Regions from separate parts of the Homo sapiens genome. Here regions 2, 3 and 4 are each linked to region 1. The links are contacts of gene promoters, found by promoter capture Hi-C in blood cells and fetal thymus (Javierre and others, 2016). All regions are on one chromosome and are shown on one strand. Each heading gives the region's core, a stretch centred on a gene start or on the middle of the fragment in contact. The rest is flanking DNA. Distances are from core to core; before and after follow the strand shown.

Region 1 (3,173 bases), core at 637-3,136:
ATTCATATGATGGAATACTACTGAGCAATCAAAAGAAAGTGATACACATGATATCAGATGAAAATATTACCCTGAGTGAAAGAACCCTTACACAAAAATATCTATTGCATGACTCCAACCATATGACGTTCTATAACAAGAAAAATAAGTATGGTGGGGGAAAAAATCAGAACAGTGGTTACCTTTGGGGAGAACTGGTTGGGAACTAAGAAAGGGCATGAAAGAACTTTCTAGGGTGATGGTAACGTTCTATATGTTAATATGGCTTGAGTTCCATAGGCGTGTGCATTTAAAAACTGATGTGTATTTAAGGTATGCATTTCATTTTTACCTTAAAAAATCCTTAATTTGAACTCCAATGATGTGCATTAGAGGTACTTAGAAGCGTACTGTCTGCAGTTTACTTTTAAATGTATGAAAACAGATAGATTGATGAGGTATGTGACAAAGCTGGTAGAGTAAAATTCTGTACTCTCCAGGTCAGTGTTTTTCAACCTCAACACTATCAACATTTTGGACCAGCAAATTTGTTGTTGTCGGGGGATGTCCTGTTCATTGTAGGAAGTTGAGGAACATCCCTGTGCTCTACCTACCCCATGCCAATACCATCCTTCCAGTTGTGACAACCCAAAATGTCTTCAGACACTGCTAAATAGAGGGGAAATCCATCCTTCCCCTTCTCTTGAGGTCTGCTCCACTGTAAAATTCTCTCGACTTCGCTTTACACTTGAATTTTTTCATAATAAATGTTGGAGGAAAAAATAAATTATGACATTGAAAAACGCTCATGAAACACTATGCAGAAGACGTAGTTTATGAAGACCTACAATACATACTGTCGTATTTTTGTTTAAAAAAAAAAAGTGGAGGGGAGACCTAGCAGTGATATTTAGTATTGCTAAATGTCAATGTTTACAAATCTTATCTATGACATTTCTAAAATGAATATTATAAAGTGTATTGCATATAGTTGGATTGGGAAGAAAAACATTTCTAATTATTCTCCTGTCAGCATCTCCTTCAAACTACCCTTTTATTAACAGGGATAGATATGCATTCACACGGTTCCTCCCAGCTTGGTTAATGGGCAAGAACACCTAAGATAGCCAAGGCCACCATGCATCCAGGCTCACATCTCCCTAATTGCCCTCCTCCATGATTCAGGGACAAGGAGGATCACCATCGTGTGGGAAGATACTAGAAATGTAGAATTTGGAACCCCACCCCTACCTACGGAATCCTGATCTGCACTTCAACAGGATCCCCGAACTATTCCTAGGCGCGTTCGAATTTGAGGAACATTAACGGACCAATTCTTTGTCCCTGAAAAGTGCCCGTTATAGAGGCGGCCGCTGGGAAATGACAACGGGGTTGGCATGGAGAGGTATTAAGTAGAAAAACTCCGGCCGGGCACGGTGGCTCAGGCCTGTAATCCCAGCACTGTGGGAGGCCGAGGCCGGTGGATCACCTGAGGTCAGGAGTTCGAGACCAGCCTGGCCAACATGGTGAAACCCCATTTCTACTGAAAAATACAAAAATTATCTGGGCATGGTGGTGGGCGCCTGTAATCCCAGCTACTCGGGAGGCTGAGGCAGGAGAATCGCTTGAACCCAGGAGGCGGAGGCTGCAGTGAGCCGAGATCGCGCCACTGCACTCCAGCTTGAGAGACACAGCGAGACTCCGTCTCAAAAAAAAAAAAAAGGAAGAAAGAAAGAAGAAGAAGAGAACTCTGCGACTGAAAAGTACCTAGCAGGGACAACGCATTCCCTACGTCCTTCCAAGTGCAGACACCAACACCGGCGGACGCGGCTCCCAACAGGCGAGCCCCAGCTTCCGGTCCGCGGCCTTGGACGCGCATGCGCCGCATGCTTTTTTTTTTTTTTTCCGGTAGGTCGCCAGCTGAGGCGGTTTGTAAGTTTTGGGTCGCAGTATGCTAGAATTTTGAGGCTCCCTTCTGATGAAAATTGAGCTGTCCATGCAGCCATGGAACCCGGGTTACAGCAGTGAGGGGGCCACGGCTCAAGGTGAGTCTCGCCTCAGCTAGCGCCAGTGGTGACCGCCACGGGGGTTTCCCACGCTGCAGCGCCCAGTGCAACCCTTTGGGAACGTGCCCGGCATGGCGGCCCCGGTTCCCCTCACTGCATGCGCCCATCGGTCGGCTCGGTCCTCGGCGTTGCTTCCCGGCTTCTGCAGCCCTGCTCCAGCCGGGGACCTCGCCCCGGGGGCAATCAGGGTGCGAGGGCGGCTGCGTGCTGGGCTTTCTTCCTGAGAGCGTCTTGGCTTGGGTCGCGGGGTACCCTGCTCTGTTCTTCAAAAAAAAATCTGCAAGGAAAAGATATTATTCCACTCAGAAATCTCAAGTTTCAGTCTGCGTTCTCTTAAATATATTTTATTTTTTAAAAAAATAATAAAGGCGAGCTCTTACTATGTTACCCAGGCTGATCTTGAACTCCTGGGCTCAAGCAGTCCCCCTTCCTCTGCCTCCCAAAGTGCTGGGATTACAGGCGTGAGCAATCGCGCCCGGCCACAGTCTATTATCTTACAGCATTCGCTGAAATCTTGAATCATAAAATTATCTTGAGGGTTTTTTGGAAGGACTGAAATCTCTTAAGCGAAAATAATTTGGCAGATAAATGACCTGTGACATCACTCCCGTAGTTGTCCGTTCAAGAGTCCCTCCGTCCCGTTCTTCTTTGCTAATCCCATTTCATCTTCGATACCTCCAATTCAATAGCACCCTCTCCCAACTTTACTCACTCCCTGGGAGACTTTAAACAAATATATAGTTCCAAATAAGTGTTGACTCCCAAGATTATATATCTAGCTGAGTCTCTCGTAGACTTCAAAACTATACATCTAACTGCCTGCTAGACCTCTCTATTTAACAGGTGTCTTAGTAGGCACTTCATTACTTGTGTCTAAAACCAAGCTTCAGCTCCCCATGACCATCAACGTCTAAATAAATGGCAGATCCATACTTTCAGTACCTTAAAGCCCCGGAGTCATTCTTCCGTGTCTCATGTAATTCATCTGTAAATCCTGTTGCCTCTGTTCTCTGCATGTATCCAGAACCTGAAGCTCACCAACTTGACCACTATAATCCTATCAAAGCCACCATCATCTCTCCCTAGTTATTGCGGTGTCTATATCTGGTCACCCCACTTTTCCTTTCA
Region 2 (3,007 bases), core at 314-2,813, 340 kb before region 1:
ACCCACCTCGGCCTCCCAAAGTGCTGGGATTACAGGCGTGAGCCACTGCGCCTGGCCAGATGCAGTCTTAATGAGGGCAGTCAGGGGAGCCTCACTGACAAGATGACAATGGGGCAAACATGACATTCCCAGGAGTTCCCAGGAGAGGACAGGGGCCTGGGAATGAGGCCAGAGGGTTGGGGAGGGAGTTCATTGTGGAAGGCCTCTGAGGCCGCCGACAAAATAGCAGCTTTTAGCTGAGTAAAATATCACTTCTTGCTTTTAGATATCTGCCTGATGGACAGCTACGTTTTGTGAGCCCAAAGTATTTGAGACAGGTCTCAATTAATTTAGAAAGTTTATCTGCCAAGGCTAAGGACGTGCCTATGACAGCGTCAGGAAGTCTTGGGTACATGATGACATGTACCCAAGTGGTCAGGGCACAGCTTGGTTTTATACATTTTAGCTTGATTTTATACATTGATGAGACCTCAATCAATATGCATAAGAGGTACATTGGTTTGGTCCAGAAAGGTGGAACAACTCGAAGTAAGGGATTCCAGGTCAGAGGTAGATAAGGGACAAAAGGTTTCATTCTTTGGGGTCTTCGATCAGCCTTTCACTGAATACATGTGAGGTGGAATGAATAGAGGAATAGTCACTGATGCCTTAGTCTGACTCAGTGAATCTGCATTTTTACATAAACAATAGGTCAGAGGAAGCAATGAGAAATGCATTTGTCACAGGTGAGCAGAGCAATGATCAAGAGTTCTGTCTGTCCTCTGTCCTGGGCCTGTGAAGATAAGGTATCAATTAATATGGCCAGGATGAAGTTCAACAGAACTGTTTTAGGGTAAAGATCTTTGAGGCTCACAAGGAATTTCCTTACGGGCAAATTGTGAGGGAGGTATGTAGCTTTTTTATTTTTATTGTTTTTCTTTGTAGTTATTTTATTTAGGAATAAAATGGGAGGCAGGTTTGTCTGATGCAGTTCCCAGCTTGACTTTTCCCTTTGGCTTAGTGATTCTGGAGTCTTGAGATTTATTTTCCTTTCACGGTTTTCCCCATTTCTTTCTTTGCTTAAAATCGTGTTTGATAGTTTTATAATCGTGGTGGTGGTTATTGTCTCAAGATTCATGAGTACTCGCAAAAGCAAATTTTAATAAATAACAACTGTTCACCCCAGATGGACTTCAATTTTTTTTATTCACAGAGAGATTTCGATATACCTGGTTATAATCATACTAGATACATAAATCACTTGCTTTCATGTTTAGCATCTGTCATGAGTATTTTTCATTTTATTCCATGTTTACCATAAACATTTTGTTAGCTAAAAACTCATAAAGAGACAATCATTGTGTCAAACATTTGATTTTACTGTGAGGATTAAGGGAAAAATTATAAAAAGAGCCGAGTACAGTGTCAAATCTTAGTTTGAGTAGAGATACAATATAGTGCTTTGCTTTTTTCCATTTCTAAAGGTCTATTCAAAATTATTTACTATGATAAATGCTATGATGGACATCTTGATATAAGAAGAAATTTTTATTATTATTATTATGGATTAATAATAGTCCTAAAATTTAAGATTATTGTTCTTCAGGATGGATTCCTTGGCATACAATTACTGTGTCTGATGTTATGGCTAGTTTAAAATGTTTTAAATAAAATATCAAACTGCTTCCCCAAAGCATAAAAGCTATTTTAAATACTACCCCCCTTGTGTTAGAATGCCAGTTTCACTCCCCCTCATTTTTTATTTTCTAATTTGATATATTTTTTACTTCTTTCTATTTAGCACTTTTTACATTTCTTTCTTTCTTCTTTCTTTCTTTCTTTCTTTCTTTCTTTCTTTCTTTCTTTCTTTTCTTTTCTTTTCTTTTCTTTTCTTTTTTTCTGAGACAGAGTCTCACTCTGTCACCCAGGCTGGAATGCAGTGGTGTGATCTCAGCTTACTGCAACCTCTGCCTCCTGAGGTCAAGCAATCCTCCTGCCTCAGCCTCCCCAGTAGCTGGGATTACAGGCGCCCTCCACCACACCCAACTAATTTTTGGATTTTTAGTAGAGATGGGGTTTCACCATGTTGGCCAGGCTGGTCTTGAACTCCTGATCTCGTGATCCACTTGCCTCGGCCTCCCAAAGTGCTGGGATTACAGGCGTGAGCCACGGCGCCCAGCCCACTTTTTATATTTCTAATGAGAAATAATGATAAAAATCTTCAAAAGCATGTTTAACCCACACAGGTTGCCTCCAAAGTCCCTGAGTTCCTGGTTATTGAGTGCTCCTGTTTTCTCTTTTGTCCTCTGCAGGCCCATGTCTGTTGCTCCTTTGTCTTGATGTAGTTTGGTGTTCTTTTTATTGGATATTGTCAAATGTGTAAAGATTAAAGATATTAGCCCTGTAACTGTTGTTTGGATGACTCTTAAATCTTGAGGCCAAATTAGTTTTCACTTTTACGCTGAATTGCTAACATCAAATGTGCCCTTCCTGCCCCACCCAAAAGGGCAGAGGAAGTGACAACCCCAGGGGCCCTCCTTCTCCCCTGTGTCCAGGGAAGAGCATCCCCACTTCCAGTCACTCCAGCAGGGAAGTATAAGGAAAGGGCAGAAGAAGTGAGGGGTGGACATCAGACCACAGGGACTAGCTCTCAGGGCGTGTGGGGACTAGGTGAGTGGGAGAAGCGGATCACGCTGACTCCACTAGATCCAGTAGGAGTAGCCAAAGCTGGAGTTATTATCTACATGAATATGGGGAACGAGTTACCCATTTGTTGTCCCCTACTTGAGGAGGGAATCAACCCTGAAGTCTGGGCATTGGAAGGAACAAACTCAAGCTCCAGCCTTAAGCCTTCCCACAGGATGAAACTTTTCTTTATGCATCACAGAGAGAGCAAGGATGGCTCTTGGAGTCCTTACTCAGACTCATGGGGCAACCCCACAACCAGTGGCATACCTAAGTAAGGAAATTGATGTAGTAGCGAAAGGCTGGCCTCACTCTTTAAGGGTAGTTGTGGCGGTGGCCATCT
Region 3 (3,087 bases), core at 523-3,022, 460 kb before region 1:
TTCCTACTTCTAGCAACTGGCCGTTGGAGACAGTGGTTTGATTATGCAACTATGTTTATTATCTCTGTCATTACCAATATATTTGAATTCATCCATTTCTTCACTCATTAAAGTATAGAAACTTGGCCAAGTGCGGTGCCTCACACTTCTAATCCCAGCACTTTGGGAGGCCGAGGCGGGTGGATCACAAGGTCAAGAGATCGAGACCATCCTGTCCAACATAGTGAAACCCCGGCTCTACTAAAAATACAAAAATTAGCCAGGTGTGTTGGCGCATGCCTGTAGTCCCAGCTACTCATGAGGCTGAGCAGGAGAGTCTCTTGAACCCAGGAGATGGAGATTGCAGTGAGCTGAGATTGCGCCACTGCACTGCAGCCTGGCAACAGAGTGAGACTCCATCTCAAAAAAAAAAATATGGAAACTTAGGATTATGTGTCTTTAAGGATTGTTGCAACCAACACATACCTTAGCTGGTTAAACTCTCCTCTTTCAAGGTAAAGAAAACAAAATCTGCATGACTGCATTCTTCTTAATAGTGTAAAAACTTGGAGATTAGGGAAAACTTTAGGAGTGGAAATGTGACTGGGAAAATGGAAGTTGTTTATTCACATTGGTTGATCTCTAAAGCTAGAATATCTGGATTTCCAGCTCCACCACTTTGGCAAGTTATGTAATCTCGGTTTTTCACATTGCTAAAACGGAAACAAAAATAGACTCAACCCAACAGGGCTCTTATGGAGTTCAACGAGATAAAGTGTGTTCAGGGCTGGCAACTGCTGAGCTCCCCCCTACTCCATATCAGGTCTTATTACTGCTATTATGGAGCTGTATCAGTATTCCTCATGTCACTCAGAGAAGGCCCATCCAAAAAGACACAAAGGGGTGTAAACCCAAGTGTATTCTTCATCTCGCCATGCAAGCATGAACACCCACTGGCTACTCTCCTTTCACTACCCAGAAAAACTTTCCGTCCATAATGCAAACTGCATCGTAAACTCCAGGAAACACCAGCTTTCATCACATAGGTAATTTAAGCATAGCTTTAACCTCCATTGCTTAAGTTCTAGCTCTGTCTGTGGGTCTCCCAGTCTACCATTCTGGCCCATGCCATAACAATAGCTACCAACAACACTAATATTTATTAAGTGCTTATAATGCACCTTATGAGTTTTCACTCATTTAGTCCTCAAAACAACCCATTAAAAAGATGATTATTATATCATCTTTTTACTAATCTATTCTTCAAATTAGGAAACAAAAGCAAAGAAGGGTCACATAACTTATCCAAAGTCACACTATAAATCAACCATGTATAGTTAAGAGATGCATTAAAATACAAAACCATAGAGTGAAAGGTGCATTAAAATAAAAATAATTTTAAATTATGACAAATTACCAGCTGGTCCAGGTATCTGGTCTTTTGGAAAAGTTACTCAATTTTACCAAAATTTGTATAAACCCTTTGTAAAAACTCTGGAAAAGATCTTAGAGATTCATAAGGTAGAAAAATGTGAGACTTTCTGCAATTAAACTTGAGCAAGCTGAGATAAAATTCTGTAAAGAAAGGAAGGAAAAAGAAAGAAGGAAGAGAAAAAGAACAGAAGAAGCAGATCAGAGAATGAAAATAACCATAATTAAACTCCTAATGATGTGTAAAGCAGCATTTTAGAAACATTTTATTTGTATGACTTGCTAATACTCCAAACTCTTTTGTCTTTCTCCCTCTTTCCATTGTGTCCATCTGTGGAGATCCCAACCTTTGTCCTTGCGTTTAAGCAGCCAAGTCATGTTCTAACCTTGACCCTGTCTTCAGTCTGTGTCCCCTCACTTGCTGAAGAGACCATCAAACATTGTTACTCCAGCCAGAATGACCCATGATGCTGTCTTCCCTTAACCACCCCTTCCTACCCAATTCCTCCCAAAGTTCCGTCCATTTTAGGTCCCACCTGTCTCTTGAATCTGGCCACTAGTCTCCAGGCCCTTGTCCTCTCATCCAAGTTCCTCTCTCTTGTGCCAGGATTTGCATGGCCACCTTTTTGCTCCTGTGGCATCCTGGGCACCACTTCACTTCCATGTGCTATTTCTACAGCAACAGGGCTATTTTCAATGTATAAACTCATTACACCCTCCTGTATCAACAACAGCTCCTCCGCTGTCATGGTTAATATTGAGAGTCAACTTGATTGGATTGAAGGATGCAAAGTATTGTTCTGGGTGTGTCTATGAGTGTGTTCCCAGAGGAGATTAACATTTGAGTCAGTGGACTGAGAGAGACAGACTCACCCTCAATCTGGGTGGGCACCATCTAATCAGCTGCCAGCACGGCCAGAATAAAAGCAGGCAGAAGAACGTGGAAAGACTAGAACGGCTAAGTCTTCTGGACTCCGTCCTTCTCCCATGCTGGATGCTTCCTACCCTCAAACATCAGCCTCTAGGTTCCTCAGCTTTTGGACTCTTGGACTTACATCAGTTGTTTGCTGAGTGCTCTTGGGCTTTAGGCCACAGACTGTACGTTGGCTTCCCTACTTTTGAGGTTTGGTGACTCAGACTTAGCCACTACTGGCTTCTTTGCTCCTTAGCTTGCAGGCAGCCTATGATGGGACTTCACCTTGTGACCTTGAGAGCTAATTCTCCATAATAAACACCCTTTAGTATATACCTCTATCCCATTAGTTCTGTCCTTCTGGAGAACCCTGACTAATACACCAGCTCTGCCGTAGCCCTCTGGGTCAGCCTGTTCTCCCCGGCCTCATTTCACGCTCTCTTCCTCTAGCTGTCTGTGCTCCAACCTGCATTCCTTAGACACACCATTCCCACCTCTGTCCTCTGCCTGGGCCCATTCTTTTCCACCAACACTCCCCTTCCCATCTCACTGCCTTTCCCTGCTTAATGTCAATCCATCTTTCAGATTTCACCTTCAGTCTAACTTTTTAGGGAGACCCGGCCTGACCACCCAGCTAGAGCAGGTCTGTGGTTGTCTGCTGTGATTCTACAACATGTTTTTTTTTTTTTTCCTTCGGAGCTCTTCCTTCAGTGTGTGATTACACATGCACTCCTTTGGGTGTTTTGTTTGAAATCAAGGTTGTT
Region 4 (3,367 bases), core at 89-2,588, 320 kb before region 1:
GCAGATTCTCTGACAGATATTGTGCTAAATGTTTTCCAACATGCAATCTCAGCTATGTAATCCACACAACACCTCTCTTGATTTAAGCAACATCAAACCCACTGAAGGGATGGGACTGAATTTAAGATGCCTAGAGACAGCCGGTGGGTGAGTTACTAAAGTGTGAAGAATTCGGGGGGGTAATTTTGTGCTTGCTAATTACCATTTTTGTTATTATTATAATTTTAAGATATTACCCCTATAAGAAAGTCTACCACAGAATTTTTCAAAAGTTTTTCTGGTTCCTGCCTTCCTGTCCATGTCACTTATCACTGCTGACAGCATGTCTTTTCTATTATCATCCCATTTCATCCTTCTTGTTCTAACATCTTATTGCTTCTAATCTATTATGAGCCAGGAAACCAAATAATCAAGGTATTTATAAGAAAAGAGTAAATAAACACTTGCTAGAAAGTCAAACGTTTTTCTTATGAAATTTATCACAACTCTCAACAAGTCAGTGTTGTTCTGTTTGCTTTCTGTTCATTGACAGGTTCTGGAGAGTTGAGGCTGCCAGTTAACCTTGAGACAAGTTAGTTCATAGTGCTAATCTATAAGTGCCATCCTTTAGTCTTTTATGACATAAAAGTCACTAAAAGGGTAAAACGAATTTTGCTTTATACAAAAGTATTGTTATGGTTTTATACAAAAGTATTACTATAAAATTATGTATGAATCCAATTATTGTTATTTCTAAAATATTTTAAAGCCTTGTAATATTTTGAGAAAATATACAATAAATACAAAATACTAAATTTTTATATGGCAAAGTATTCTCCAATCTGTTCAGATTTTTATATACAAGTTCTTTTTTTTTTTTTTTTTAAATAGATGTAGGTCAAGAATGTGCGTGTTAAGTATGTGTATGTAAGCAAAATCAATGTTTGGCCAGTACATTTTCTCTTATGCAAAGTTTATCAGTTGCACTCTTCTGATAAAATGAGTCTGCAGATACTGAAAGGGCAAGAACGGTACCTACTGCTTGTTCACAGTAGGAACCATTAAATGCAATCAACACCCATTTCTTTTTATGGTCTCTCAGAAGCCAATCCAAAGGAGGATGAAAACAAAGCTTCCAGAAGAAAGTGAGAAAGAATCTTTCTTCACTCATGGCAATATTCAGCCATGGACTCCTCTACCAAAGTTGGGATGAATCTATTCTAAACAGCAATAGAAAATTTTCAACTGCTGGTTGGTCTTTTAAATTAAATATGGTTCAACAAAATAAGGAGTACTTGAGCTTCCTCCCAGAAATTAGAACCACTACTTAACCTACAGATACTATGAAGATTACAAATATTTTATGACTTCTGTATCTTAATATCCACATGATCTTTAAATACTCTCACTCCTCCCACCCCACTAAATTAGGGATGACATCATTCTTTAAGTATACAAGATGGCTTGCTTCTTCACAACAACTAAAACAAATAGGCACAGCCCTAGAACTCCACCAGAATTATTTCTATAAATTAAATGTTCCCATCTGTTCCCCTGCACTTTAACTCCTACACAGCTAAGCTTCTAAGCAGTTTCCATTTCACTCTAAGTTTAAGACACATATTTACTATAATAGCAGTCAGCTTAATAACTAAAAGTAAAATACAAGTAATTCAAGTTAATTACTTAATGACATCAGTATTTAAGATACCTCCCAAAGTCACTACTTACAGTCATGAGTGGGACTCACTATTAGTGTCCTGCTACCTATCCCTACAATATATTTCCATTTTCCTATAAAAACAACTGTATAAATCACGTTTGAAGTGCTGCACCTTTAATTAGAGCTATTTCTTAAAAAGGAATAAAATTGGCATTCTGGTACCATTCTGGATTTTATACCAACAAAAAATCTTTACAGGCTGGGCACAGTGGCTCACGCCTGTAATCCCAGCACTTTGGGAGGCTGAGGTGGGCGGGTCATGTGAGGTCAGGAGTTCGAGACCAGCTTAGCCAACATGGTGAAACCCTGTCTCTAATAAAAATACAAAAAAATTAGCTGGGCATGGTGGCACACACCTGTAAACCTAGCTAAAAGGGCAGGCTGAGGCAGGGGAATCACTTGAGCCTGGGAGACGGAGGTTGCGGTGAGCCGAGATTGTGCCGCTGCACTCCAGCCTGGGTGACAGAGCAAGACTCTGTCTCAAAAAAAAAAAAAAAAAAAAACCTTTGCATCTAAATCCTTATTTTGAATAGCTAGTGCACAATATTTATTCAAATATAATTTTTTTAAAGATCATAAATATAACTCACCCAATAAAGATATAGAAGAATTTGGCACCAAAAGTACAAGTGACAATTTTATGATAGGGTAAAGAGTACTCACTGTTAGAAAATGGTCACTAATAGTTCCTTAGTAAGTAAAACCTCTGAACGGCAGTTCAGAGAAATCTGCAAATGGCACTGAGAAATATAAGCAAAAATGCTCATTTTCACTCATAAGATAAAAATAAAAGCTACCACGAGATATCATGGTATCTCACTATCAGACTGGAAAAAACCCAAAAGCTGACAACAAATCTTGACTGAGGGTGTGGACAGACACACACACATATACTGCTGCTGGAAGGCCAAATATGACAATTCCTAAGGAGGGGAATCTGTTAATATCTAATAAAATTATGTATGTATTTACCCTTGATCCAACAATCCCACTTCTAGGAATGTGTCCTAGAGACACAGCTCCTTAAACATGAAACAGTATACAGTTATTCACTGCAGGATCCCAACTGTCCACCCACAGAAGACTGGTTTGAACTGTATTACAGTCACTACTGAGTACTATGGAGCTGGAAAACGAATGACAACCTCTCTGAACTAAGAAAAAATATTTCCTATAAATCAATTCTTAAGTTTAAAAAGTACAGAAAAATGTATATAAAATACTTCCATGCAGCAGGATGGATAATAAGAGTAGACATAAAATGTTAACACATTTTTAGAAAAGAAACACAGGGAAAAAAAAATCCAGAAACTAATGAAAATGGTTACCTATAGGAAGTAGCTATGAATAGGGTATAAGGAGAAGATGAGATCAAGATTTGGAGTATATATTTTTTAAAATATAGTTTTAATGTTTGAACCATATAAACGTTTTACATTCAAAATAAAACAAATTAAAAATGTAGGCCAGGCATGGTGGCTCATGCCTAAAATCTCAGCACTTTGGGAGGCCAAGGCAGGAGGATCGATTGAGCCCAGGAGTTTTGAGAGGAGCCTGGGCAACACAGCGAAACCTCACCTTCACAAAAAAATTACCCGGGCATGGTGGTGCGCACCTGTAGTCCTGGCTACTCAGAAGGCTGATATGAGAGGATTTGCTTGATCC

The links. The method cuts DNA at HindIII sites, captures the fragments that hold promoters and counts their contacts. A CHiCAGO score of 5 or more calls a contact.
Region 2: a contact is called between a fragment that was not itself captured here and the fragment with the promoter of RWDD2B in region 1, in 2 of 17 cell types (neutrophils and naive B cells). The highest score is 9.3, in neutrophils.
Region 3: a fragment that was not itself captured here is called in contact with the fragment with the promoter of RWDD2B in region 1 in 2 of 17 cell types (neutrophils and non-activated CD4 T cells); the score reaches 6.5 in neutrophils.
Region 4: a fragment that was not itself captured here is called in contact with the fragment with the promoter of RWDD2B in region 1 in 11 of 17 cell types (naive B cells, fetal thymus, activated CD4 T cells and 8 more); the score reaches 11.8 in naive B cells.

What each region holds. Positions count from the first base shown.
Region 1 is chr21:29,018,062-29,021,234 of GRCh38, reverse strand. It overlaps RWDD2B (RWD domain containing 2B), which reads left to right and starts at 1,886. Exons shown (of 5, transcript NM_016940.3): 1 at 1,886-2,024. The coding sequence starts at 1,958. It overlaps LOC124905005 (a long non-coding RNA gene), which reads right to left. Exons shown (of 2, transcript XR_007067836.1): 1 at 2,988-3,173; 2 at 1-2,322. RefSeq lists an enhancer at 1,796-2,045. The HindIII fragment of the contact is 4,408 bases long and covers 1-2,931 here.
Region 2 is chr21:29,357,613-29,360,619 of GRCh38, reverse strand. It overlaps a transcript of BACH1 not described here. Among named protein-coding and RNA genes, the nearest start is that of BACH1-IT2, 13 kb to the left of the region's middle. The HindIII fragment of the contact is 8,040 bases long and covers 1-3,007 here.
Region 3 is chr21:29,477,595-29,480,681 of GRCh38, reverse strand. No RefSeq gene overlaps it. Among named protein-coding and RNA genes, the nearest start is that of BACH1-IT3, 17 kb to the left of the region's middle. The HindIII fragment of the contact is 6,871 bases long and covers 1-3,087 here.
Region 4 is chr21:29,338,468-29,341,834 of GRCh38, reverse strand. All of the region lies in intron 4 of BACH1 (BTB domain and CNC homolog 1), which reads right to left. Among named protein-coding and RNA genes, the nearest start is that of BACH1-IT2, 32 kb to the left of the region's middle. The HindIII fragment of the contact is 449 bases long and covers 1,114-1,562 here.